Linked DNA regions of Homo sapiens: regions 1, 2, 3, 4, 6 and 7 are each linked to region 5. The links are contacts of gene promoters, found by promoter capture Hi-C in blood cells and fetal thymus (Javierre and others, 2016). All regions are on one chromosome and are shown on one strand. The core of a region is centred on a gene start or on the middle of the fragment in contact, and the rest is flanking DNA. Distances in the headings are between cores, read along the strand shown. Region 1 has its middle 120 kb from the start of ASCL4. Region 2 overlaps PRDM4 (PR/SET domain 4). Region 3 overlaps UBE3B (ubiquitin protein ligase E3B). Region 4 has its middle 23 kb from the start of PWP1. Region 5 holds the start of FICD (FIC domain protein adenylyltransferase). Region 6 overlaps PRDM4 (PR/SET domain 4). Region 7 holds the start of ACACB (acetyl-CoA carboxylase beta).

Evidence for each region. The method cuts DNA at HindIII sites, captures the fragments that hold promoters and counts their contacts. A CHiCAGO score of 5 or more calls a contact.
Region 1: a fragment that was not itself captured here is called in contact with the fragment with the promoter of FICD in region 5 in 4 of 17 cell types (naive B cells, M1 macrophages, M2 macrophages and 1 more); the score reaches 7.3 in naive B cells.
Region 2: a contact is called between a fragment that was not itself captured here and the fragment with the promoter of FICD in region 5, in 1 of 17 cell types (naive B cells). The highest score is 5.4, in naive B cells.
Region 3: a fragment that was not itself captured here is called in contact with the fragment with the promoter of FICD in region 5 in 1 of 17 cell types (neutrophils); the score reaches 5.1 in neutrophils.
Region 4: a contact is called between a fragment that was not itself captured here and the fragment with the promoter of FICD in region 5, in 1 of 17 cell types (total B cells). The highest score is 6.1, in total B cells.
Region 6: a contact is called between a fragment that was not itself captured here and the fragment with the promoter of FICD in region 5, in 8 of 17 cell types (total CD4 T cells, naive CD4 T cells, naive CD8 T cells and 5 more). The highest score is 10.8, in total CD4 T cells.
Region 7: a contact is called between the fragment with the promoter of ACACB here and the fragment with the promoter of FICD in region 5, in 13 of 17 cell types (neutrophils, erythroblasts, total CD4 T cells and 10 more). The highest score is 14.5, in neutrophils.

The regions. Positions count from the first base shown.
Region 1 is chr12:107,889,716-107,892,623 of GRCh38, reverse strand. It overlaps the pseudogene LOC644746. Among named protein-coding and RNA genes, the nearest start is that of ASCL4, 120 kb to the right of the region's middle. The HindIII fragment of the contact is 1,242 bases long and covers 942-2,183 here.
Region 2 is chr12:107,732,811-107,736,016 of GRCh38, reverse strand. PRDM4 (PR/SET domain 4) reads left to right here. Exons shown (of 12, transcript NM_012406.4): 12 at 1,495-3,146. The coding sequence ends at 1,807. Among named protein-coding and RNA genes, the nearest start is that of PRDM4-AS1, 2.1 kb to the left of the region's middle. The HindIII fragment of the contact is 3,900 bases long and covers 1-3,206 here.
Region 3 is chr12:109,479,109-109,482,043 of GRCh38, reverse strand. UBE3B (ubiquitin protein ligase E3B) reads right to left here. Exons shown (of 28, transcript NM_130466.4): 2 at 302-407. Among named protein-coding and RNA genes, the nearest start is that of UBE3B, 2.9 kb to the right of the region's middle. The HindIII fragment of the contact is 2,401 bases long and covers 397-2,797 here.
Region 4 is chr12:107,661,596-107,664,481 of GRCh38, reverse strand. No RefSeq gene overlaps it. Among named protein-coding and RNA genes, the nearest start is that of PWP1, 23 kb to the left of the region's middle. The HindIII fragment of the contact is 9,605 bases long and covers 1-2,886 here.
Region 5 is chr12:108,513,616-108,516,645 of GRCh38, reverse strand. FICD (FIC domain protein adenylyltransferase) reads right to left here and starts at 1,369. Exons shown (of 3, transcript NM_007076.3): 1 at 1,285-1,369. RefSeq lists an enhancer at 1,838-1,897. The HindIII fragment of the contact is 9,938 bases long and covers 1-3,030 here.
Region 6 is chr12:107,751,053-107,754,314 of GRCh38, reverse strand. It overlaps PRDM4 (PR/SET domain 4), which reads left to right. Exons shown (of 12, transcript NM_012406.4): 4 at 206-391; 5 at 2,106-2,900. All of the region lies in intron 3 of PRDM4-AS1 (PRDM4 antisense RNA 1), which reads right to left. Among named protein-coding and RNA genes, the nearest start is that of PRDM4, 8.5 kb to the left of the region's middle. The HindIII fragment of the contact is 3,807 bases long and covers 1-3,168 here.
Region 7 is chr12:109,114,975-109,118,293 of GRCh38, reverse strand. ACACB (acetyl-CoA carboxylase beta) reads right to left here and starts at 1,707. Exons shown (of 53, transcript NM_001093.4): 1 at 1,590-1,707. The HindIII fragment of the contact is 11,769 bases long and covers 1-3,319 here.

The sequences.
Region 1 (2,908 bases), core at 313-2,812, 620 kb after region 5:
CACGCCACTGTACTCCAGCCTGGGTGACAGAGCAAGACTCCGTCTCAAAAAGAAAAAAAAGAAAAAAAAAAAAAGAAAATCACATTCGAATATCACCTCCTCCCTCAAGTATTGCCTTATTTCCCAAGATTGGCTAGTTATTTCCTCCTTTTTGTTCCTTTTAGTGTACTTTTGTAGAGGCTAATAATAATCATAAGATAGGTTATGGAAATAATTACAATATCTACTCAGAACGGAATGCTTTTTTATGGCCCAAGTACTGTGCTGTTACAGCAACACTATTGTGTCATCCTTTCATTGACCCTCTGAAAGAGATACAATTATTCTCCCTATTTAGTAGATGAGGAAATTAGGGCTGTGATTGGTGCAAAGTCATCCATACAGCAAGTGTCAGAGCCTGAATCAACATGAAGTTGTCTGACCCCAGAGCCTGTGTGCGTAGCCATAGCAGATGCTGCCTCCTGTTGGTCATTTGTCATTAATCTATGCATGCATTTCTTTTGGCTGTCCCTTCATCAAAGGATTCGCAAGGGCACAGGGATGCTTTTGTCCACCTTTAGTGGATTCTGACCAAGAGTTTTCCAAATGAAATGCCCATCTGATGCTCACGCCAGCCATGGACAAGAGATTGGTTGTTCCCCAGCCTCTCCATCAATTGGTATTTTCTGACTTTTAAATTTTAGCCATGCTTGGAGATGTGTAAAAAGCACATGGAAAGTCCAGATGCTTTGGGGAAGCACACAGATTCTGAGAGTCTGGAGGCAACACAAAGAACAAACTGATTGTCTTAGCTCATTCACGCTGCTTTAACAAGAGACCATATAGTTAGTGGCTTATAAACAACAAAAACGTATTTCTCATAGTTCCGGAGGCTGGGAAGTCCAAGATCAAGGCACTGACAGATTTAGTGTCCAGTGAGGACATCTATGAACCGAGAAGCTTGTTAGGTATGGTGCCTTCTCTTTGTGTCCTCACATAGGGGAAGGGGTGAGAGAGCTCTCTGGGGTCTTTTTTATAAGGGCACTAATCCCATTCATAAGATGACCCTTATGATCCAATCACCTACCAAAGGCCCCTCCTCCTAAAACCATCACACGGGAGGGAGGCTTTCAACGTATAAATTTTGGGGGGACACAAACATTCAGTCTATAGCCCTGTGTCTTCTATAATCTTTTTCCACTGGCATATACTAAAACTATAAAATTTATGGTTTTATCATTACAGTATAGTAATTTTTTTGTTAATTAAAAGACATAAGCAAAGTTTGGTTTTGTTGTTACATAGAATAATTAGTTTTAGGGGAAAAAGAAAAGAGCTCCAGGTCACTGTCCATTTATAATGTGCAGATCTCCTGACTGGAACCTACTGAGGGTTGGGGTGGGGAGGCAAAGTCACCTCTGCCACCCCTGTGTCATCAGACCTTCTGCTTTTCTCAGGGTCCAGGTGCATGGGACTCTGCCTTTACATCCTGGAGGCCTAGAGACCTCCCCTTTCCACCGCATCTGTTTCACTAGTCAAGTGAATGCCTGGGCTAATTTGCTCCTATAGGACATTTATAGACACTCTCTGCTGAAAACAACAGCCTCAGTGGAGAGCAGCAGACAGCCCTCAGTGTCCTGTGGACCTGACTTGAATCAATATTCTCTGTGTTCTTTTAATATGCAGAATCTCCTAGTAAAGGTGAACTCAATTAATGAATGACATACAGAGTTTCATTTTATTTTGTTTTTATTGATGCATAATGTACATAGTTTCAGAGTACATGTGATAATTTCACACATTCATATAATTTGTAAACATCGATCAGTATACTTGGGATATCCATCACCTTAAATATTTGTCTTTTCTTTATACTAGAACCATTTGAATTCTCTCTTCCAGCTATTTTTAAATGTATAATAGACTATCGCAAACTATAGTCACTCTATTGATCTATCTAATACTAGGTCTTATTTCTTCTGTAAAACCATGTTATTTGTTTATAGCCAATAATTACTGAGCCCACAACGGGGCTTTTTTTCCTGTTGCCTCTGTTCCATGTGCAACTGTCAACATATGGTTCACTCGCGGGGCCAAAACAGAGCTCACTGGGAAAACTCTTGGTCTAAATAACTTTATGGATGAATGAGAATTAAGCCATGGGCCTGTCCAGCTTTTCCTTTCCAGACAGAGAAAAAGAAGCTTTGAATGCTCTAGGGAAGGCCAAACCAGAGGCAAGAATAACAAATTCTTGACTTTTCTGTGGATACAGAGAAAATATGTGAGACTAGATATAAACAGGGTGTTATATAAATTAGGCAAAAATGGGCCCTGTATTGTACATCCAATGGAATAAAACTAGAAATCAACAGCAGAAGGAAAAATGGAAAATTCACAAATATGTGGAAATTAACACATTCTAAAGTGACTAATGGGCCAAAAAAGAATTTATAAGAAAAATTAGGCTGGACATGGTGGCTCACACCTGTAATCCCAGTACTTTGGGAGGCTGAGGAGGGCGGATCACGAGGTCAAGACATCAAGACCCTCCTGGCCAACATGGTGAAACCCCATCTCTACTAAAAATACAAAAAGTAGCCAGGTGTGGTGGTGCACACCTGTAGTCCCAGCTACTCAGGAGGCTGAGGCAGGAGAATCGCTTGAACCCAGGAGGCGGAGGTTGCAGTGAGCCAAGATCATACCACTGCACTCCAGCCTGGCAACAGAGTGAGACTCCGTCTCAAAAAAAAACAAAAAACAAAAAACAAAAGATATGGGATCCATCACTAAGGTAACAACAAGTAATGTTTGTAATGCCAGTATCCAGCAAAATCCCTGCTTTATGTAACCAGGGATTCACCCACAGTGCATTCAGAAGCACAGTGCTGGCTGAGAAGCACCTTCCCTTTCTCAAACTCAGTGTCCAGAA
Region 2 (3,206 bases), core at 510-3,009, 780 kb after region 5:
CATGATGTTTCCCATCTGCAGAATTAAGAGGTTGGATTAGATTGGTGGTTTTAAAACTGCTCCAGGGAATTCTAAGGGTTCTTCAGTGCCATCTGTTGCTAGAAGAGGATGAGAGAAATGCTAAGGAAGCCAGGCTTCAGAACGCCCGACTGCACCCTCTCACTCCTTCCAGGATTTTATTAATAACCTGCTTTAACTGTTTCATATTGGGCTTTCATAAAGACATGGGGTTCAGCTACTCAAAAAAAAAAAAAAAGCTAAAAAATTCCTGGTCTGTGTGATCTCTAAGGTTCTTTTCAGCTCTGAAATGTCTAGGCCAGGGTTACTCAAACCTTGACATTATTGACATTTTGACCGGGTTAATTTTTTGTTGTGGGGCTGCCCTGTGCATTGTAGAATGGTTAGCAGCATCCTTGGCCTTTTCCTACTAGATACTAATTATACCACCCCTCCCCAGTATAACAATCAGAAAGGACTCCAGACATTGCCAAATGTCCCCATAGAGGCAGTCGCCCCTACTTGAGAACCACTAGTCTAAGAAAAGGACAGAAAAATGGTAATTCCATAAAAGTGGCATCCAGGGAATACAAATAACGGTGTAATGAGATACCATTATGTACTGGCTAATTGGCAGACATTTTCAAATTTGAGTCTTCCAGTTGAGAATATGGGACAACCAGAACCGTCAATGATGGATGTGTATATTGAAACAACTACATTGGAAAACCGTTTGTCATTATCTTGTAAAGTTGAAGATGTGCATATCCTTTGATTTAGCTATATAGTTCTTGGGTATGTGCCCTAGAGAAACATGTATTGCAGAGCACCATACAAGTATAAAAATGTTCAAATGCCAGGTACAGTGGCATGCACCTGTAGTCCCAGGTACTTGGGAGGCTGAGGCGGACAGATCACTTGAGCCCAGGAGTTCAAGGCTGTAGTGCATGATGATCACACCTGTGAATAGCCATTGCACTCCAGTCTGGGCAACATGGTGGGACCCTGTCTCTAAAAAATAATAATAAAAATTTAAAAAAATTTAAAAACGTTCTAGCACTTTTGCTTGTGATAATAAAAAACTGGAAACCACCAAAACATTCATTAGCTAGAGACAAATCCAGTACCATAGATAAGTTGTGGTGTATTTGTATATTTGTAAATAGTATACAGCAGTGGAAGGGAACAAACAACTGATACAGCAGCTTGAATGAATTTTATGAGCATCATACTGAGAGAATGCAGCAAGACAAAAGAAATACATATAGAATTTACATAGAATTTGAGAATTTACATAGTATTCTAAAACAGGAAAAATGAGCCTACACTGTTTTAAACTATACATGTTTTATGAGTCTTCTGTATATCACCTATGCAAAAGCCTGATTCAGAAGGATAGAGCTGCTCTGACAAAGGCCTGCGGCTATGAAGAATAAGTGTTGCCTCAGTTGTTATTTGTAACCCCAAATCAAATGTTTTTTCTTGTGTTCCTCTTAGAGAACGCCAGATCAAGTGTCCCAAGTGTGATAAGCTGTTCTTGAGAACAAATCACTTAAAGAAGCATCTCAATTCTCATGAAGGAAAACGGGATTATGTCTGTGAAAAATGTACAAAGGCTTATCTAACCAAATACCATCTCACCCGCCACCTGAAAACCTGCAAAGGGCCCACCTCCAGTTCGTCAGCACCAGAGGAGGAAGAAGAGGATGACTCAGAAGAGGAAGATCTAGCAGACTCTGTGGGGACAGAAGACTGTAGGATTAACAGTGCTGTGTATTCAGCGGATGAGTCTCTTTCTGCACATAAATAAAAGGAAAAGAAACAAGCAATTTTGGATGAAAATGCAAATGGAAAAATACACATAACCAGTTATCTACTATAATGGTTTTTATATAAAATGGTTCCTGATTTATTTTCAGCCAGTAATCAAAACAGACTGGGAATGAATAAAGCACTTACAGAAGAGTATCCTAATGAAAACACTTTAAAACAGATTGGGAAAACTGAGCATGTGTCCTGTTTTAAGTGGTGGACTGGGAGGGAAGTGTCAACTTCTGAGGTCTTTATTTACATGATAATCTGGGAGATGCATTTATGCCTGAATCAAAGCTGCCTTCTGCTCAAACAAATCAGATTTATTTCACATTCTTCCATTATTCCATTTTCCTGCTGGTCCTGTGACTTGGTAACATTCTAAACGGTCCTTGCCCCATAGCCATCCTGATTGCTGATAGTGTTTTATGCAGACTCTTGTGACTTATACTCACCACAGAATGGATTGGGACACAGCAGCATAAGTGTGCTACTTGGCAGCTAGTAAGTTTAAAGCAGGACCTGCCTTAACTGCTCCTGGCCACTTGGAAGTTTAGGGTAGATCTTGTTTTCCAAAGTTTCGGCAGGTGCCTGGAGGGCAAATAAAAAAGCAGCAGTCAGTCAGTAGTCAGTGATGGAGAGAACAAGAGGAGAGATGCCTGGCCTCTGCCCAAGAAATTAGCTTTGATGGAAGCCTGAGCAAGTCACCTGGTTATTGTAACGTGGAGATCTTTGTAGGTTTAGACATGGCTCCCTGTCTCCAGTAAACATCCAGCCATTCAGACAAAGGGGGCCTGGAGATACAGAGAGCCCAAATAATGCCTGCTGGATTGTCTCCTGATGAGTACATGTGGACTCACCTGAGGAAGGGAAGGAAGGGAATAATCTTTTATGTTTCATTTACCTTATGAAAAGTGTTAAAACATTGCCAACTCAAAATAACATTATTTAATGCATGTGCAAAGTTAGGTCTTCCCAGTTGTCTCAGTGCTGAGGAACCTCATCAGAGAAGCATGGAAGATGCCAAAGGATTTTTGGAAGGTAAAGAAGGCTGAATAGTGACCACATGGGCCTGTTTTCAGGGTCCCAGCTTAGTTAAGTCACCCATGCACCTGGTCATTGTGTCTCCCATGCACATCCAGCGTTTCTCAGAAGCAGACCCACCCTTAAGTTGACAGGATTGATGGAACATGCTCTCCTGCTCAAGGCACAACCTCTGGGCTGGAGTAGAGGACTCTGGTGGGAAGGTTTTGCTGCTAATGTATTTATGGAATGAATGTATTTCATTCAAATCTGTATTCCTCTAGGAAGGATTAAAATTAAACTTTTTTAAAATACAGGATTCCTCTGGTAGTCTCATTTCATGGAGGAAGGAGATGAGTGAGTCTTCTAGGGAA
Region 3 (2,935 bases), core at 348-2,847, 970 kb before region 5:
AAAAAAAGTTGGTGCAAGCCTCCCACCACATGAACATATCAAGGGACCTCTGTGACCCCTTCTCAACAGTGATCTGTCAAACATCATCAGTAATCCTTGAAACAAACTAACAGAGCCCACTTGACCACAGGAGGGAAGGTATTAGGTTGGTACAAAAGTAATTGTGGGTTTCAACTTTTTTAAAAAAACACTAAGTCGTAATTACTTTTGCACCAACTTATAAAAGGCTTGGAGAGAAACGGTAGCCATCTTCTGAATCATTTACGCTTCCTGCCCCAGCAGTAAAGTCTGGAGATCTCACCTGAGGACCTGCCTGTGTCGCAGAAATGCCAGGTAATCATTAGTGATCTTGCACAGGACTCGTGGCTGAGAACAGCTTCTCACTTCAGAAAAGCTTGTTATTTTTTCTGGCAGAAGCAGAAGAAAAAAATCCAGACTTAGGGTTAAATTTTATAGGTGTGGTATCATACATCTTCCTCACTGAGTAAAAGTAGTAACTACAATGCCAATGGTTTTTTAAAAACACCACTGGGTCCTCTTTATTTAATGTCTCATCTAAATGTTATACTGTATCTCTTCAATCCTCACAGTTTAAAGGGAATATGTTGAAAATAAATCCCAAAGTTGTTGTTGAATTACAGCTGTGATGGGAAGCAAAATAACTTAGAGGTCATGGAATGTTAAAGAGCTACTGAAAATTATATTTGACATTTTCCTTTTTTTTTTTTTTGAGATAGTCTCACTCTGTCGCTGAGGTTGGAGTGCAGCGGCATAATTTCAGCTCACTATAACTTCTGCTCCCAGGTTCAAGCGATTCTCCTGCTTCAGCCTCCCAAGTAGCTGGGATTACAGGTGTGTGCCACCATACCCTATCTCAGTTGGGGTTACAGGTGTGAGCCACTGTGCCCGGCCATGTTTGACATTTTTTTTTTTTTTTTTGAGACGGAGTCTTGCTCTGTCGCCCAGGCTGGAGTGCAGTGGCGCGATATTGGCTCACTGCAAGCTCCGCCTCCCGGGTTCATGCCATTCTCCTGCCTCAGCGTGTTTGACATTTTTAATGATAATGGAAAAACGTTTATGCCTTAGAAGTGAATAAAGGGCTGCCTGTGGACCAATAAGACCCCAATTACCTAAAGAAAAATGTACACACACACAGATACAAAACTAGCATGAACTATACCAACATGTTACCAGTGGCTGTTTTGAGGTACTGAAATTGCGGGAAATTTTTCTTAATTGGTCTGTATTTTCTAAATTTTCCACAGCATGCACATGGTGAAGCAGCACTGCACAGTGAGGGGCACACGGGCTTTGGGAGTCACACAGAGTTGGAGCCAGTCCCTAGCTCTGCCACATACTATAGGGAGAATGTCTAAGTCTTTTTTTTTTTTTTAAGGCAGGGTCTCGCTCTGTCATCCAAGCTGGAGTGCAGTGGTGCAATCATGGTTCATTGCAGCTTCTACCTCCCAGGCTCAAGCGATTCTCCCACCTCAGCTTCTCAAGTAGCTGGGACCACAGGTACATACCACCACATCTGGCTAGTTTTTAAATTTTTTGTAGAGGTGGGGTCTCGCTATATTGCCCAGGTTGGTGGTCTCAAACTCCTGGGCTCAAGAGATCCTCCTGCCTTGGCCTCCCAAAATGTTAGGATTACAGGTATGAGCCACCACACTGGGCCCTGAGTCTTTCCATCTTCATCTATTAATTGGCTTAGAGGTTGATAATGAGGACTAAATGTGATGATGCTTATCAGGTACCTATGGAGGTACTTGAGTGCACATTGTAGAGTGTATAGTCAGGAAGTCTAACTGGTGTATTATTTTTATAGACACAAGGATTAAAAAAAAAAAAAAACTCTTCAGCAGAGGCTCCCACCTGGACAGTTACTAAGGTTCTCTGGGTAGGAAATAATGCTGGCAGTCTGACATTTCTCACCCATTAACTTTTTTCCTATCTTAAATGCACTAAGATTCACCAGTCCTGTCCCTTGGGCTATGAACTCCTGGCCCTGTTGTTTAGAGTGAGTAACAGATTCAAGCTCCTCAGGACTGCAAAAGAGCAGGGCCCAAGCCACAAGCACAATGATATGCTCCCTCCATGACATGCAGACAGTGCCTCAATGGCAGAGGGTCCATGGAATTAGAAGGGGAAGAGGGAGCCTCTTCCCAAAAGAAAAACAAAGTTGCATGCAAACTGTACCTAAGCACTGTAAGACGATCTTAAAACTTTCACTTCTCCCAGGGGCCCTCCCAGAATAAGAAATTACTCTTATCCCCTTCCTTGAGATTATTATCCCTTCAGCAATGTTATTGGTTGATTTCTGTTCATATCATATAATAGCCTACACTTTACAGTTTTTCTCATCCTTTCCTATATACCTTCTCCACCTGCACAGTGTATACTATAGTTCGTCAATTAATAAAACACACAATCAAGTGTTTATTAAGTACTTATTTTGCTAAATGCCATGGAGAACCAAAGAAAAGGCTGTGCGCAGCAGAAAAAGTCTTGCATCAGAGAAAGCGGGCCTTGGTTCTTTTTAGTACTCCTTCTATCCGACATTTGGCCAAGTTACTTATCCTCTCTAGGCCTCAGTTTCCTTATGTGTAAATCGAGGGTAATAATAGTGTCTATGTCCTAGGGTTGCTGAAAGGATTAAATGCAACATTTATCCTTCTTGTACCTCAATTTAGTCATCACAACATTGTGATTAGGATTAAATGGGAAAATATTAATATAGGATATCTAAAAGCATGTAGCATGTAAGTGAGCTTTATTGTATTGTCCTTAAGAAGCTTGCAATCTAGTTAGGGAAACAAGAATCATATAGGTAGAAAGATTAGAAAATAAGAGGTTGGTGATAACCAAGATCATTTAAAAAAGTAAATGAGTGCCCATTATGTGTCAAGTCCTTTATAAGTGATCTCATCTAATA
Region 4 (2,886 bases), core at 158-2,657, 850 kb after region 5:
AGGTTGAGGCTGCAGTGAGCCGTGACCACGCCACTGTAATCCAGCCTGGGTGACAGAGAAAGCCCCTGTCTCTCTCTGGTTAAAAGGTGACAGGATACCGGGGAATGCTACTCATCAATGAAAAGGAACAAGCATTCCATACGTGCAGGCTCCTTGGATGGGTCTCTGAGGCATTCTGCTGGGTGCAAAAAGCCAGTCTCGCCGTTTGAGGTGCTAACACCCGTAATCCCAGCATTTTGGGAGGCTGAGGCAGACAGATTGCTTGAGCTCGGGAGTTTGAGACCAGTCCTGGCAACATAGCGAGACCCTGTCTCTACAGAAAATTTTTTTAAAAAGTGATCTGGTAGTGGTGGTGCATGCCTGTTGTCCCGCTACTCAGGATACTGAGGTGGGAGGATTGCTTGAGCCCAGGAGTTTGACACCAGCCTGGGCAACATGGTAAAATCCCTATCTCTACAAAAATAAATAAATAAATAAATAAAAATTAGCTGGGCATGGTGGCTCATGTCTGTGGTTCCAGCTACTTGGGAGACTGAGTCGGGAGGATTCTTGAGCCTGGGAGGCGGAGGTTGCAGTGAGTTGAAATCACACCACTGCACTCCAGCCTGCGCGACAGAATGAAACCGTGTGTCAATAATAATAATAATAATAAAAACACCAATCTCCAAAGGCTGCTTACTATATGGTCTCATTTACATAACATTCTTGAAATAACAAAACTATAGAGATGGAAAACAGATTAATGGTTGCCAGGGGTTTGGGATGAAGTTGGTGGAGGAAGGGCCAGAGTGATTCCAAAGGGGTAGCATGAGGGAGATCTTTGCGGTGAGGGAAGAGTGACAGTGGTGGTGGTTACACGAATCCACACGTGGCAAGATGTCACAGAACCATACACACACATTGTAGCGATGTCAACTTCCTGGTTTGGATATTGTACTAAATTTATCTAAGATGTTACCATTGGGTTACTCTGTACTATCTTTGCAACTTCCTGCGAATCTGTAATTGTTTCAAAATAAAAAGTGAAAAAAAAAAACCCCAAACCAAAAAGGAGATGGTAGTCATGTAGCAATGATCTAGAGAGATGCCATCTTCATGGTGAGATAGGTGAAGCCTCATTCTAACGCTTTTATCTGGTTTCCTGCTGGGAGCCTGTTTTGCTGAAGGCATCATTGTGAAATGATGAAAAAGGTCCCTTTTGCTAAATCCTCCTGGATGCAATCTGGAATGTTCTATTACACAAAATGATGTTCTCACAAGGTTCTAATATAGGAGTGTGGTAAGGAGAGTGTGACAGGTTCCAGTCTAGGCCCACAGGACATCAAGTCAGAAGGAGTTGAGGAAACAGGTCCAGATGGAGAAGAGGCCTGGCCAAGGTCACCCAGGTAGCAGATGACAGATTCAGGGTCAGGGGTGAGATGTGGTGCCCAGCACAGAGCCCCTCCATTGTACCAATCAGCCTCTTCCCTTTGTAGCTCTTCATCCCAGAGGTTTTCCGTAGCATTAAAATTCAGAACTCATCTGAAGGTTAGCTCTGAAAAGCAACATCCAAAGAACGCACCAATGACATCAGGGCATGTCTTCTAATTGCCTATTCACGCAGACAGATTGTCTTTTCAGATTCAGGGCTAAACTTGGAGATGTGTCCTTTCACAGGGCACTCGTTATCTGCCTGCCTCATCAGTGATGGGAACTAAAGCGCAATGTGATTGCTGAGTATGAGTTCTATTTTTTTCTGCCAAGCAGGAAGTTCAAAATCTGTTGGGTTATTTTTAAAGAGGGTGGAAAAAATAGGCATCATAGCAGCTTCTGCAATGGCCCCGGCCAAAGGCACGTGCTGCTTTATTCAAGGCATTGGCTAGGCTGGGAGGAACAGAGGTGACGTGAAGTTCCACCAGGGAGGTTTCTTGGTGGAGGGGTGGGGGATGAGTGTCCACACACTCAAGTGGCAGCACAGGGCATATGGGTTTGCCTACTAACTTGATGAGGACAGCAGTCCCAGATTTTTCTGGAGGGATATCTAGCAGTTTGTTTCATTTGGGGGTTTGTGGCTACCCTCTCCCTCTCCACAGAGCTGTGGTCCTCAAGCCCTGGACTGAGAGTTGGCTCTGGCGGGCGTGGGCCCTGCTCAGCCATTTGTGGGGTCTTGGACCTTAGACACACACCATGGGAGTCTCGTGTCATCCAAGTCACACATGTGAATCTCACATTCCTGTGTAGACAAGAAATTTGGAAGAGTGAATCCCTGCAACTCTAATCTTTTGAAAATATGATGTTTATAAGAAAGGAAATCCAGGTGTACTTGGCTTCCATTTGCAAACATTTCTTGATTACTTTGTGTGAAGCACTGTGCTAGGAACTAGAATCACAAAAGAGCTCAGTTTGGGGGGAATTTCCCTATACTCCTCGGAATAAGTAGCAAAACCCTAGAGAATCACAAATCACCATGGGAACCGCTGCTGTAGAAAGTTCTAGAAATGAAGGCAAAGTCATTAGCCTTCCTTTCCTTGTATGAATCATCAATTTCCCCTTCCTTCTGCTCAGTCTTAGAAGTTTAGAAAAGCCTTTTCCCTGCTACTAACAGTGTGGGACTCGTACAAAATATCTCCTTTAATCCTCCCAACACCACTATTCACTAGTTATAGGTTTTTGTTTTTTGTTTTTTTTCCTTTTTGAGACGGAGTCTTGCTCTGTTGCCCAGGCTGGAGTGCAGTGGCACAATCTTGGTTCACTGCAACCTCTGCCTCCCAGGTTCAACCGATTCTCCTGCCTCAGCCTCCTGAGTAGCTGGGATTGCAGGTGCCTGCCACCACGCCCCGTTAATTTTTGTATTTTTTAGTAGAGATGGGGTTTTGCCATGTTGGCCAGGCTGGTCTTGAACTGCTG
Region 5 (3,030 bases), core at 120-2,619:
CTCACATGGGTCACCTCCTGCAATCTTCAACGACTTGAGCTGATGTTTTCACCCTTCTCCAGGTGAGGGAACTGAGGTTCAGAGAGGTGAAGTCCCTTGCCGAAAGTCTCGCCGGGAGCAAGTGACAGCCTTAGGACTTGAACTCAGGAACCCCACGGCTCTAAAGTGTCCCCCCTTCCCATATATCCCTGTGGCTTCTGACCACAAACACTGGATTTGTGGACATATGTCAAACATTTGGGACATAAATGACTGACAGACACCCAGGCAGATCAGCCACAGCAGTTCTGACGCCCAATCTTTGATAAGCACAATTGTTGGGTGGCCTCATTTATTGCCCTCACCCTGATATTCAGCCACAGCTCCCACAGTGCCCTTCCCCTCTCTGGCCTTCCATTTCTGGCCTGTCCAGAAGGGACCCCATCAAGAAGATGAGCAGTTCGAGCATCTCGAAAGGAACTCAGGCTGTGGGCCACAGTGCTTGGCCTCAGTGACAACATGGCTTGTATGTGCTTGGGGCTGGCAGTGGGAGTGGAGGTGGGGCCAGGCATGCAAACACTATGCTAACAATAAGCACTTATTAAGCAACTATGGTGTCCTAGGTGCTGAGCAGTGTACTGGCCACGCATTGCCTCGTTTCACCCTCATGCCACCCTATGAAGGAAGAGCTACCGCTAGCTCCATTTTACAGACAAGGGAAACCAAGACACAGAGAGCATAAGTTAAATTCCAGAAGGCCCACAGGAGGTAAACAGAGGCATCCGGAAGGAAACCCCAGGGCCTCTGAACCCGGTCCCCAGGTCTCGATTTCTACCTTATTACTAAGCAGGGCCTGTGCACCTGCTCTGGGCTGGTCCTGACCCGGGAATGACTGATGGATCACGGGGTTCTGAGTCTCATGGGGATCCTGGCCCATTGCCACAGAACATGTGAAATGGCTTGGGGTGCGCTTTAATAGGGGTGCGCCTGGAGTGCTGCGCGGGTCCAGGGGTCTGGGCGGGCTTCCCGAGGGGACAGGCTCCTGGGCGGGGCGGTACAGGAAAGGGGGCAGTTCGCCGGTGCCAGGGGTGTGTGCAGGGAAGGAGTGCGTTCTGGGAGGCGCGAATCTCTCCCCCACACTTCCCTAGAAAGGGAGAACTGAGGCCCGGAGAGGGGAGGGGACCGGTCTGAGTCCCCTCCAAGACTGCAGAGCCTCCCTTCCCGAACCCCGCCCAGGGCTCGCGGCCCCGTCGCACCCTTCCCGGCTTCATCCTCTCGAGCCCCTAGGGCTTTTCCCCTTCTCACCGCGCGCAGCTGTCAGAACCCCAACCGCCTTCCCCGCGCTCCCAGCTCCGGGCCGCCGGCTCCCGGGTCCTCCTTCTCCGCCGGCCTCTGGCCCCGCCCCCGGCGACTTGCCATTGAACCGCCCGCAGCCCTCGTCGCGGCGGATTGGCTTTCCCCACTTGTCCTTCCCTCGCATTTCCGGGTTCCCGCGTCCGCGTCGGCTTCCCCGGGAAAGACGCGCCGTGGGCCACTCCCATTGGTTGTTGCTTGCGTTTGTCTCGTTCACGTAGCAGCCAATAAGCAGCGGGAGGGGCGGGGCCTAGGCCACAGGCAGGAGGAGCAGGTGCTGGAAACCCGATGGGCGTGCGGATTTGGGGCACACTAGGTGGCGGGCCCGGAAACTGGAAGTTCCACGGCGGTCTTTTCCTCGGGTCTCTTCGTCCCGGAGCCGCTGTCGTGTGCCTCATTTTTCCCGGTTGTGAAATGAAGATGCTGATGCTTTTCACCCCTTCACCCGGTTAGCCTGCTTGACTGCGCAGCCCCTGTTCTTAGCCTCCACCCCATGCTGCTGAGTTTGCCGCCTTCTTCTTCTTTACTCTTTTCCTCTCTGTGTCTTTTCCTCCCTGACTTAAACAACTTTTTTTTTTCTTATAAAATACAGGGTCTCGTTGTGTCGCCCAGGCTGGAGTGCGGTGGAGCAATTGCAGCTCACTGCAGCCTCCACCTCCTGGGCTCAAGCAATCCTCCCATCTCAGCCTCCCGAGTAGCTGGGACTACAGGTGCATGCCACCATGCCCGGCGAATTTTCTTTTCTTTTCTTTTCTTTCTTTCTTTCTTTTTTTTTCTCTCTCTCTGTCTTGCTTTCTTTCTTTTTTTTTGAGACGGAATCGCACTCTGTTGCCCAGGCTGGAGGGAAGTGGCACGATCTTGGCCCACTGCAACCTCCGCCTCCCAGGTTGAAGCGATTCTCCTGCCTCAGCCTCCCGAGTAGCTGGGATTACAGGCGCGCATCACCACGCCCGCCTAATTTGTGTATTTTTAGTAGAGATGGGGTTTCACCACGTTGGCCAGGCTGGTCTCGAACTCCTGACCTCAGAAGATTCGCCTGCCTCGGCCTCCCAAAGTGCTGGGATTACAGGCGTGAGCCATCGCGCCCGACCTATTTCTGATTTTTTATTTTCTTTAGAGACCGGGTCTCACTATGTCGCCCGGGCTGGTCTCGAACTCTTGACCTTAAGCTCTCCCTCCATCTCGGCTTCCCAAAGCGCTAAGATTACAGGCGCAAGCCACCCCCTCGGTTCTCCCTGACTTTTTAATTTGTATCCTCTCCAGAAGGACCTGGCTAGTTCTTTTGGCTTCCCAGAGAGAAATTTTTTCCTTGAAGCAGAGAATGGAAACCTCCATCTTAATCCACAAATACTGAAATTAAACATCTAGGGAGGTGCCCCAGAAACGCTAAGCATTTAGAAGTTAGCAGTTCAGATTCTGGGGAGTCAAAGAGACCTGAGCTCAAATTCAGACTTTGCCATTTACTCTCCGTGTCACCTTGGGCACGTTACTCCTAGCCTCACTTTCCCCACTTGTAAAATGGGGACAAACAGCCTACCTTGCTTTTGGCATCCAGTTCAGGATTTGCAGAAGGCTTGATGCTTCAAGATCTGACCTCCTCTGTGACGTGTATTGCTCTTGGAGGCAGGGCTAGGTGGTGGTTGTGGGGTGTCACTGTTGGGAGTCACACAGACCTGGGTTCAAATCCCAGTTCTGCCC
Region 6 (3,262 bases), core at 16-2,515, 760 kb after region 5:
TAACTTAAAAACTATCTTTGGGACTAAGACTACTTTCTTTAGGCTTATTTGTGGATATTTGCACATTATCTAAGGATGAAAAGGGCTAGTAGGTGAGATTTTTGCCCATGTGTAAAAACCTTTCTAAGAGTTTAGCCAGTGGTTGTAGTGAGAATTTTTAATTACCTATTTTCTTTTAACTGAGAAAAAAAATTTTGTTTTGTAGGCCTCCCAGTGGCAATTCCAAACCTGGGTCCCTCCCTGAGCTCTCTGCCTTCTGCTCTGTCTTTAATGCTACCAATGGGTATTGGGGATCGAGGGGTGATGTGTGGGTTACCTGAAAGAAACTACACCCTACCTCCACCACCTTACCCTCACCTGGAGAGCAGTTATTTCAGAACCATTCTACCTGGTAAGTGTTACAGTTACTTGAGATGTTAGAGAAAAAGAACGGCGCCAGCTTTTAAACTTTTATCCTGAAGATATGAATAACACTTTTTTCTGTTTGTCACTATTAGATATTAATCTCTAGGCAGGAAAAGTATCTTTGTTTATATTTATGTACTTTTCCTCTTAGAATGTGGCACATAACACATTAGTAATACAGTTTGACTAAGCTGAATTTCTTAATTGCACATAATTTTTCTTCTTTCTCCTCCAGTATCTCTTTCATTTGGTGTTTATAATTCTACAGCTATAATTTCAGTCAAGCACTATAGTGTCTTGTTATAGTGTCATGTTTTTTAAGTTCATTGAATTTTTATTCTGTTATAGGAGTATTATATGCTTATTGCGGAAAATTTAGCAAATAAGGGAAGGAACCACTCAGTCCCATCATCCATCTTTTTGGTGTACTTCCTTCCTGCCATTTGTTTTGGTGTATAGGTTTTTACCAATTTTCATAATTAAGACCACGGTTTCTTCTCTTGCTCTCTTTTTTCTTTTCTTTTTTTTTTTTTTCTTTTAATGGAGACGGAGTCTCAACTATTTTGCCCAGGCTGGACTGGAACTCCTGGACTCCAGTGATTCTCTCACCTCAGACTCTTGAGTAGCTTGGAATACAGGCACATGCCTGCCTTGAGACCATACCATATTTCATTTCTTTTTTATAAATAACTTTTTTAAAAAAAGAGATGGGGTTTTGGCATGTTGCCGAGGCTGGTCTCGAACTCCTGCGCTGAAGCCATCCGCCCACGTCAGCATCCCAAAGTGCCGGGATTACAGGCATGAGCCACTGTGCCCTGCCCAAGACCATACTTTCTATACGATTGTCTGTCTTTACTTTTTTCACTTTATCTTTTTCTCTGCTGTTACATGGGTATTTTCCTTTGCTGCTACGTGGTTTTCATAATTATCCTTTTTAATGATGCATTACTTTCTACTGAATGGGTATTTGATGGTTTATTATCTTTATTGTTGGACAGTTTGGTTTTTCCAGTTTTTATTACCATTGTAACTAATGCTCTTATGAACGTCTTTATGTATAATATTTACAAAATGGATTTAGAGAAGAGTACCTTAAGTGGAATTTCTTGTGCAAGAGGGTATTAACATTTTTGAGGCTCCTAATATATATGCTTCACAAAGAAGTTTTAGCAGTTTACATTCCCTCTGGCAGTTTAGTAAGTATCATTTCACCATATCCTCCCAAGCACAAGTGTTAATTTTTTTTTGTTTTAATAAAACAGGTACAATTGTGACTTGTATTAAATAGTTTGTGTTATGATAGTTTAATTATATTAAATTATATTTAATTAAGTTTTATTTTTCACATGGAAGATCTGTTTTTAAATCATTTTACCTTTTAATAATTAGGAGAGCAAATTTTACACCTTAGGACTCAGGAATTGCAACCATATGTATATTAAAAGCAGTGTTTTCGTTAGTGATTCCCAGTTAGCTTCAAAGGAACATAGTTAACTTTTTTAGGATTTTCGAGTTTTACAGGAAAAACTCAATTACGGTATATGTATGTTGCTATTTATAAAATAGTGTGTATCGATTAAATTAAAGAAGCAGGAGATTATTTGAACTTAGTTATGTTTGTAAGGAAATAGCGTCTAGTGCTTGGAATTCTTTAATAATGTACTAAAAGTCTCTGATATCTCATCTTTTCCTTTTCTCAGGCATTTTATCTTATTTAGCTGACAGACCACCTCCACAGTACATCCACCCTAACTCTATAAATGTTGATGGTAATACAGCATTATCTATCACCAATAACCCTTCAGCACTAGATCCCTATCAGTCCAATGGAAATGTTGGATTAGAACCAGGCATTGTTTCAATAGACTCTCGCTCTGTGAACACACATGGTGCCCAAAGTCTTCATCCCAGTGATGGCCATGAGGTGGCCTTGGACACAGCAATCACTATGGAGAACGTTTCTAGGGTTACCAGCCCAATTTCGACAGATGGAATGGCAGAGGAGCTTACGATGGACGGTGTTGCAGGCGAGCATTCCCAAATCCCAAATGGCTCCAGAAGTCATGAACCTCTGTCTGTGGATTCTGTGAGCAACAACCTTGCAGCAGACGCTGTAGGACATGGTGGTGTGATACCCATGCATGGGAATGGCCTGGAGCTCCCTGTGGTCATGGAGACAGACCACATTGCAAGTCGGGTCAATGGCATGTCTGACAGTGCCCTCAGTGACTCCATTCACACTGTGGCCATGAGCACCAACTCTGTAAGCGTGGCACTCTCTACCTCACACAACCTTGCCTCCCTAGAATCTGTTTCCCTCCATGAAGTTGGCCTCAGCCTAGAACCTGTGGCTGTCTCCTCCATCACCCAGGAGGTTGCTATGGGGACAGGTCATGTAGATGTATCTTCAGACAGTCTTTCTTTTGTATCACCTTCACTGCAAATGGAAGACTCCAATTCAAACAAGGAGAACATGGCAACCTTGTTTACAATTTGTGAGTGTGTTTAGCCTTTCTTTTTTGGAAATATTTGTAAAAAGGGCCACCATCCCTAACAAGTTAAGTCGTAAAGTTTGGCATTAAGGGAGTATAGAAAGCAACTAGACCTTGGAACTTTTCTTTGCCTTGGTATTGTCCTTTATATTAATGTGGTGCCTTTTCTTCAAGTAAGCCAAATGATATACATACATTTAGTTGGTTCTTAGAGCATCCTCCTGAAGAAATGAAATGTGAAGTAGTCATTTTTGTATTTTGCAGATAAGCTTAGCACATGCGGTAGTGTGTGCCTGTAGTCCCAGCTATTCTGGAGGCAGAGGCAGGAGGTTGCTTGAGCCCAGGAGTTTCAGGCTATAGTGTTC
Region 7 (3,319 bases), core at 458-2,957, 600 kb before region 5:
GTCTCAGACCTAAAGGTGTTGAAAGTATGAGCGAGTTTACACAACACCTGAGCAGGAGCAAATAAAACTCTTAAGAGCTTCTGAAAGAAAGTTACAGATTAGAGATATTTTCATCTCTAAATCACATGAATTAGGATTGGCTGGGTCTTTCCACTTAAAACTTGGAGAAGTCATAAAAAGAAATCTTGTAAAGAACTCCATGTCACTATTAGCAGAAACATGCAATTTATAAAATGATATCTTTGGCCAGGCGCGGTGGCTCATGCCTGTAATCCCAGCACTCTGGGAGGCCGAGGCGGGCGGATCACTTGAGGTCAGGAGATCGAGACCATCCTGGCTAACACAGTGAAACCCTGTCTCTACTAAAAATACAAAAAAAATTAGCCGGGCGTGGTAGTGGGTGCCTGTAGTCCCAGCTACTTGGGAGGCTGAGGCAGGAGAATGGCGTGAACCCAGGAGGCGGAGCTTGCAGTGAGCACTCCATCTCAAATAATAATGATAATAATAATATCTTCACCTTTCAGTTTTTAAATTGCAAGTCCCATGTCCCGGGAATTCCCCGGTCCTGGGCAAAGTGGGATGGTTGGTCACCCAACCTATATGGATGCCCATTGATATTAAAAAATAAAAGTAATCACAATAGACATGAGGGAGAGAGTTGTGTACAGTGTGAGTGTACAGAATAAAAGGTCTGGGGGGTTTATACCAAAATGTGCACAGTGGCTACCTGGAGGAGGAGGGTTAGACAGGAATAACAGCAAGGAGACTTTTGCACGGTGCTGAGTGACTTTTTAACTTGCATATTATTTTGGAATGCATTTTTTCAACATTGAAAGAAAGTCATGTCTTCCTAGAAATATAGGATATAGGACCACTACAAACGCTTTACTCTTAGTCTCCTTTTTTTCTTTTTCTTTTCTTTTTTTTTTTTTTTGAGACAGAGTCTTGCTCTGTCAGTCAGGCTGGAATGCAGTGGCGCAATTTTAGCTCACTGCAACCCCCACCTCCTGGGTTCAAGCGATTCTCCTGCCTCAGCCTCCCAAGTAGCTGGGATTACAGGTGCCCATCACCACATCTGGCTAATTTTTATGTGTTTAGTACAGATGGGGTTTCGCCATGTTGGCCAGGCTGGTCTCGAACTCCTGACCTCAAGTGATCCACCTGCCTCTGCCTCCCAAGGTGCTGGGTGGCATGAGCCACCGTGCCCAGCCTTAGTCTGCTTTAAAAAAAAAAAAAAAAAAAAAAAGAACAACCATTTGAGGAAACAGAAACAGAATACTATTCCTTAAGACAGTAGCTTTGGAGGCAAAAAACAGAATTGTTTATAAAACGTTGTGGAACTTATATGGGAGCATGTCCAGGGATCCACACCACCATTTATAGAAGCAAAGAAAGGCCCTTCTCTTTCATCTGCGTTACATTTCGAGCTCTTCTGATTAGCTTCCTTCAAACATGACGGGAGTCGTTTTTCCCCGGGGACCCCAAGTGCATGCCTTCAGACAGGGTCTGCTCTCACTATACATTGGGTTCGAATTTACCTGGACGTTGGCAGAATGGTCCGGACCCCGGGGAGGGGCGAGCTGACTTACCACTTTATTCCTGCCGCTTTTCTCTTGCCATGTCCTCCCCACCGTGCATTCAGGGTTACATTTTCCAGGTTCCTTGTTTGCTGAGGGCCTGAATCTAAGCCTGCTAGCTGCTTACTCTGGGGACTGCAAATGTCACTTTTAGATTAATCAGCCCCTGCTGTTTAAAAATATCCCTGGAGCACTTAACCTTCAAAGCAGCAACAACCCGGGGCAAAGATGAGAAAGATCCCACGTCAAACCACTTGTGCAGCCCTGGCTACTCCTGGGAGAGTTCTGCTATCTGCCTTTTAATCCCATAACTCGCTTTATTTCATAATTCTTAGCTGTTGAAGCCATGAGGCATCTAAAGTCCATGTTGTCGTAAGCAGTAGGCAGAAAGTCATCTGGGCCCTCCTGTGACATGCTGAAAATTAACTGCCTACAGGTGTTGGTCATTTGAGAAACAAGCCCCCATTGAAAACCGTGAATGGGAAGGTGATCGCTATCAGGTCACCTGGCTTCTCTCCCCTGAAAAGATTTGGCGAAACCCTCTCAAATCACGCCACTTAATGGAATGTTTCCAATTTCTTGTGACTTGGGGATAAAAGAAAAAAACAGCTCCATTGCCACATTCTCATTCAGGGTTGACTGGCTCTTGCTAGGGTTGAGCACAGAAGAGGAAATTCAGCACACGCTGCAGTTACATAGTGTTCTGCAACGTGGGGAGGGCTGGCATGTGGGACAAAGGTCGCCTCCAAGGCCCAGCTGGAGAAGCCCAGCCAACTAGGCAGCAGGAAAGTGGAGACCACATAGGAGCACATTGTGCTCAGGCAACAGGGAAGGTGGAACCCACTTCCTGCCAACAATGATGGCCTTACTAAACAGCAAGTGGAGAAACTGGCGAGAGCGCTGAGCACGGGATCTGTGCAAAATGGTTTAAATGGAAATTGCTGCTGGGGCTGGTGCAGCCTGTTCACAGCTACTTTGTTTCTGGGCTTATTTTGCAATAAGGAACAGTCATTGAATATTGGACTTCTTGGGATTTTCTCCACTGGACTTGGAAGCATGTGCTCTGGAAACCTCAGCATTATCAGCTGTAACCCCACAGCACCAGGTACATGTTACAGGAACCGGGGTGAAGGAATGCAGGTCAAATGCCTGCACAATGCCCGGCCCGAGTCATATGTTCTCTAGCCACAGTAGCCCTTGTGATGGCTCTTAGTCTATTTATTAAGACAATAAAAGAGGTGACTCTCAAACAAACCTATGTTTCCAGGGAGAGCCATCTGTGATTCAAGGACATTTTTATAAAATTCCATTGAAAAAAATTCTTAGGCTTCTAACTTCATGAAAAAAAAATTCTTTCCCAGTGATTCCAAATAATCATGATCTAGGCAGGGTGTTGACAGTGGCAGGACTATTAGGCTTTGAAATCAAGCTGATGTGGGTTTGAATCCTCCCTCCATTAGCCATGACTTTGAGCAAATGGCTGAGCTTCAGTGTCCTCATCAACTACTTCACCATATGGGTGAGAAAATGAAATGATTTATATTGAGTTTCTGGCACAGGGGCTTGCTCATGACAAGCACTTAATATCTTTCTAATGAAATTCATTACTTGCAAAAAGACTAGACATACCCACACATACAGGTGAAGAACTCTGCAGTGATTCAGTTCTCCCTAGACACTATCTCTTTAAGACACAGGTATTTTCCAGAATATAATTGGAAGGCTTGAAACCAAAGTTATTC